Regions from separate parts of the Homo sapiens genome. Here region 2 is linked to region 1. The links are contacts of gene promoters, found by promoter capture Hi-C in blood cells and fetal thymus (Javierre and others, 2016). All regions are on one chromosome and are shown on one strand. Each heading gives the region's core, a stretch centred on a gene start or on the middle of the fragment in contact. The rest is flanking DNA. Distances are from core to core; before and after follow the strand shown.

What was found. Contacts are between HindIII fragments. The CHiCAGO score rates a contact against its expected background, and 5 or more counts as called.
Region 2: a contact is called between a fragment that was not itself captured here and the fragment with the promoter of GBA2 in region 1, in 2 of 17 cell types (megakaryocytes and naive B cells). The highest score is 5.2, in megakaryocytes.

What each region holds. Positions count from the first base shown.
Region 1 is chr9:35,747,946-35,750,566 of GRCh38, reverse strand. It overlaps GBA2 (glucosylceramidase beta 2), which reads left to right and starts at 1,339. Exons shown (of 17, transcript NM_020944.3): 1 at 1,339-2,221. The coding sequence starts at 1,863. It overlaps RGP1 (RGP1 partner of RAB6A GEF complex), which reads right to left and starts at 1,280. Exons shown (of 9, transcript NM_001080496.3): 1 at 1,159-1,280; 2 at 696-830; 3 at 188-324. The coding sequence starts at 811. RefSeq lists silencers at 991-1,040, 1,071-1,120, 1,241-1,640. The HindIII fragment of the contact is 10,379 bases long and covers 1-1,747 here.
Region 2 is chr9:35,876,116-35,878,736 of GRCh38, reverse strand. No RefSeq gene overlaps it. Among named protein-coding and RNA genes, the nearest start is that of OR13J1, 7.0 kb to the right of the region's middle. The HindIII fragment of the contact is 1,333 bases long and covers 646-1,978 here.

The DNA.
Region 1 (2,621 bases), core at 90-2,589:
GCCCTCCGTCCCTGCTGTGAAATGGGAATAGTCTTCTACCCCTAAAGCAATAGTCATGCTCCCCAACATCCCCAGCATGACAGGGACTATAAGAACAAGAACAATTAACAACTTCACCCATGGGTGACAATGCCTCCACACACACCCTCCGCACCCCCCCTCTCCCAGGCAAATGCCCCTCTCTAACCTCGGTGTGGCAGAAAGACAGTCTGGCTGTCGGGCTGGACATCTGGCTGACTAGAGTCAGGAGGAGGCAGTGCTACTCGACTCTCACTGGCATGGAACTGGCAGTGGATTTGGGCACTGGCCCAGGCCAGGGCCTCACTGTGGGAAAAGGAAAAGGAGGCATCAGAGGTAGTTCCTGACCTCACAAATGCTTTCCCAAGCTCCCTATCACACCATCTTAACCAACAAGGTTAGATGGCTGTCCTAGTGATCAGGAAATCCACAATCCCAAAGAGAAACCATTAAATAAAGAGTAGCAGACTGTGCGTAAAAAGGGGAACGGGGGAGGGGAAGGAAAGCGTACAGCTATGTCATCCACATCTTCTGTTAAAGAGCCCTCTCCTACAATGACAGCACAGTGAGCAAGAGGAGGTGGTGTCGCTACAGGACAACCTGAGCTCTGCCTCAGCCCCAGAGATAATCTGGCTTCTTCCCAGAAGGGCCACCACCTTCAGTGCCAGCATCCCCACCTGGATGCAGAAGTGGCCGTGGGCGGAAGGGGGTTGGTGACGGTCACTACACACTCCAGCGCCTCCCCAGCCAAAAATACAGGACCCCGGCTGAGCTCTGCTACCACTTCAATCATGGCAGCTCCGGAATCAGATCTAGAAGGAAACAAGGCGGGGCGGAGGTCAGCACCTTGACAGGGAGGGGCGTTGCGGTGAGCACCTAGGGCTGAGGGCTGAGGACAGGGGTGGTCAGCACCGTGGTGCCCGAGGGAGCTCCTGGATATAGGAGGGGTAGGCGGGTGGGAGGGAGGCGACTGAAGACTCAGTACTGCCCAGGGGGAGGACATCGCTCTGGGCCCTAGACCCCAGCCCCTGTGCGACGGGTTCTTCTCCCTGGGCACCCCCGCGGAGTTCCCAAACTGGCCTCCGCTCCCCCTTTCCTCAAAGTTCCACGTCCCAGCCCAAGATCACCGCCGCTAGTCACCTCGCATAGTCGACACTAGGGATCGGCACCCCTAGGCCTCATCTGCCCGCCCCTCAGGGACCTGGCTAGGTACGCGGCGGCGGCGGCGGCGGCGGCGTCCGCTGGGCGGTAGAGGCGGGACTTCCCTTCGGTCCCCCACCCTCCGCGGAGTCCCTTCCGGCCGGAAGCGCCCGGCAGGCCAGACCGGAAAGGGCTCGGGTCATCCCGGCGCCCAGGGTCACCTTCCCACGGGCTGGCACCTGGGCGCGGGCGCTGCCCCGGAGCCGGCCGGCGGGACCTGGCGCCCAATCCTGGGGGACCCGGTGCCGTGGCCCAGGGGCCGGGCCGAGGTCCCGGGGGCGGTGCCTTGCGGGCCCGTCCCGGGGCGGTGCCTGGTGGGCTGGCCCCGCGGCTCCTCCCCTCTCTGCGGGCCCAGTCGCCCTTTGGCCGGGCGAGCTAATCGTCGGCTCAATGACGACGAGGCCCGACCCTTCCCGTCCAGGACCTACAGAGACAACCGAAGGAGAGCCCAAGGCGGCTTCTTTGCTGTCGCCGCCCCCACTGAAGCAAGAGCTCCCCGGCTCCACTGAAACACCAGCTCATTTAAGCTTTCCCCAACGCCCGGCCCTCCGGGACGATACCTAACAACGACCGGCGCCCGCATCTGGAATAGGCTGGCGAGATACTTAGTATCCGAGGGCTCGGGACTTGGCGCCATCGAGGTCATGGGGACCCAGGATCCAGGGAACATGGGAACCGGCGTCCCAGCCTCGGAGCAGATAAGCTGTGCCAAAGAGGATCCACAAGTTTATTGCCCTGAAGAGACTGGCGGCACCAAGGATGTGCAGGTTACAGACTGTAAGAGTCCCGAAGACAGCCGACCCCCAAAAGAGACGGACTGCTGCAATCCGGAGGACTCTGGGCAGCTGATGGTTTCCTATGAGGGTAAAGCTATGGGCTACCAGGTGCCTCCCTTTGGCTGGCGCATCTGTCTGGCTCATGAGTTTACAGAGAAGAGGAAACCCTTTCAAGCTAACAACGTCTCCCTAAGCAACATGATAAAGCATATAGGCATGGGCTTGAGGTGAGTAGACCCCATTGCCTAGAATGCCTTTGGCTTCACTTTGTTCCAGCTCAAAACTTCTAGCAGAGGTGGGAAAGGGCAAGAAAGCAGTTGGGCTTCTTGTCTGAGTGAAGCGGTCCCTATCCCTGGCATATTTTAGGCCTGTGGTTTTGGACCGTGAGACCAGGTCACATCTCTTTGCAACACCCTTCCCTCCCAGTGTTTTGTCTTTTCAGAAGGAAAGGGTAGGAACATTTGGTCATGCAATCAGCCTTTCCCATTCAGGCTCTTCTCACATACTGGTTTCCAATGACTTCCCTTTGGGATTAGCTATACTTTGTGGCAAGGTAGGAAAGGATAATCTGGCTGCTGTGATACTAACACAATGTTGTTTTATTTGGGGGTGGGGGGGTCTCAACCC
Region 2 (2,621 bases), core at 63-2,562, 130 kb before region 1:
GCATTGTTGCGACATTTATATACTATAGGTGAGGTGGTATTACATTAATTAAAGGTAGATTAAAAGAGGAACAAATAACAGATGGAACAATAGAAAACAAACAGCCAGATGAAATATTTAAATCCAACTATGTCCCTGGTCATTTTTAATGCAATTGGTCTAAGCATCTAAATTAAAGGGCAGAGATTGTCTGATTAAATTTTTAAAGATCCGGCCGGGCACAGTGGCTCACGCCTGTAATCCCAGCACTTTGGGAGGCCGAGGCAGGCAGATCACGAGGTCAGGAGATTGAGACCATCCTGGCCAACATGGTGAAACCCCGTCTTTACCAAAAATACAAAAATTAGCTGGGCCTGGTGGCACGTGCCTGTAATCCCAGCTACTCAAAGGAGGCTGAGGCGGGAGAATGGTGTGAACCCAGGAGGCAGAGCTTGCAGTGAGCCGAGATCACACCACTGCACTCCAGCCTGGCGACATAGCAAGGCTCCATCTCAAAAAAAAAAAAAAAAAAAATTAAAGCTCCAATTCTATATTAATAGCAGACAAAGTAGATATTAGAGCAAAAACATTAACAGGGATAAAGAGGGTCATTTGAAAATGACAAAGATGTCAGTTCATCAAGATAACATAACAGTCCTAAAAGCTTATATATCTAATGACAGAGCCTCAAAATACATAAAGCAAGACCTGATAGAACTGAAAGGAGGAATAGACAAATCTGTAATTGCAGCCAAAGATTTCAACATCCCTGTCTCAGTAGTTGAAAAATAAGTAGACAGAAAATTAGTAAGAATATAGGAGACTTGGACAATACTTTCATCCAACTTAATTGATATTTATAAAACCCTTCACCCAATAACAGCAGAATACCGTGGAAAAAGACAGCTAAGGAAAATCCTCCTGGGGTCAAAACAAACCTCAAAGACTGGCCTCAAAAATACTCCTGCCCAAATTTAATTGGATCAGACTGTGGCACAATGTATTCCCCATCACATGATCAAAAACAATAAAGCAATCAGATGACAATTTGTGGAGCCTAACACTGGCTGTGATACCAGCAGAAGTAGATACTTTTACAAATAGATCAGGAAAAGCAACAGTCAAATGGCTCTGCTAAAACCACTGTTATCCCAGGGTGTGAATGTGCACATATCCAAGGCTACATACAGCCTCTGAGGAAAGACAGAGGCTTCGTGCTGTGGGATAATAGACTAAATTAAATAGTCTAGCCAAGTCAGGAATAAAGAAGTAAAAAATAACAAAAGCAAGCTACAAAGACGGGTGGAAGATCGGTATCTAGAGTGGCTACCATATATTACCAAAAATATACAGTTTCAACAAAAAATTATGAATCATGCAAAGGAACAAGAAAGTATGCATACATGAAGGGGGAACACAGGCAAGAGAAACTGCCTGCAAAAGGCCTCAAGTCATATTTAGCCAATGAAGATTTCAAGCATCCACTGTAACTATATTCAAAGAATTAAAGGAATTCATGCTTAAAGAATTAAAGGATCTACATATTTGGTGCAATCCCTATCAAAATCCCAATGATGTTTTTGCAGAAATAGAAACATCATCCTAAGATTCATATGGAATCTCAAGGGACCTTGAGTAGTCAAAACAACTTTGAATAATAACAAAGCTGAAGGACTCACACTTCCTGATTTCAAAACTTACTACAAAGCTACAGTAATCAAAACAGTATGGTACTGGCATAAAGACAGACACACAGACCAATGGAACAGAATGAAAAGCCCAGAAATAAACCCTCATATCAAGTGATTTTTGTCAAGAGCAATGAGACTATCTATTTAGGAAGGGACAGTTTTTTTCAATAAATTGTGCTGGGAAAATTAGATGTCCACATGCAAAAGAGACTCTTACGTAGTGCCAAATACCAAAACAAAAATTCAAAATGGACCAAAGACCTACCAAAAACTATCAAACTTTTAGAAGAAATCACAGGGCAAAAGCTTCATGAATTTGAATTTGGCAATAATTTCTTGGATATGACTCCAAAGGCAGAGGCAAAAAAAAGAAAACAATCAACAAATTAGACTTCATGAAAATATTAAAATTTTGTGCATCACAAGACTATGTCAACAGAGTAAGAAGGCAACCCACAGAATGGGAGAAAATATTTATAAATTATGTATCTGATGAGGGATTAACATCCATAATATAGAGAGAACTCCTAAAACCCAAAACAAAAAAACCACAGTGCTATTAATAAAAGGGCAAATAACTTAAAGAGACATTTCTCCAAAAATCTATACAAATGGACAATAGGCACATGAACAAATGTTTACCACTAAATCATTAAGGTAATACAATCAAAACTACAATAAGATAGTCCATCTCACCCATTAGAATGGCTGCTATTTAAAAAAAAAAACAGAAAATAACAAGTGTTGGTGAGACTATGAAGCAATTGGAACCCTTGTGCACTGTTGGTGGAAATATAAAATGGAAAACAGTATGGTAGTTTCTCAAAAAAGTTAAAAATAAAATAACCATATGATTCAGCAATTCTACCTCTGGTGAGGGGTGGGGGAGTAAAGGAAGCTATGATGACAATTTCTCATCAAATAGAGATATTAATGAAGAGAAACTATTTT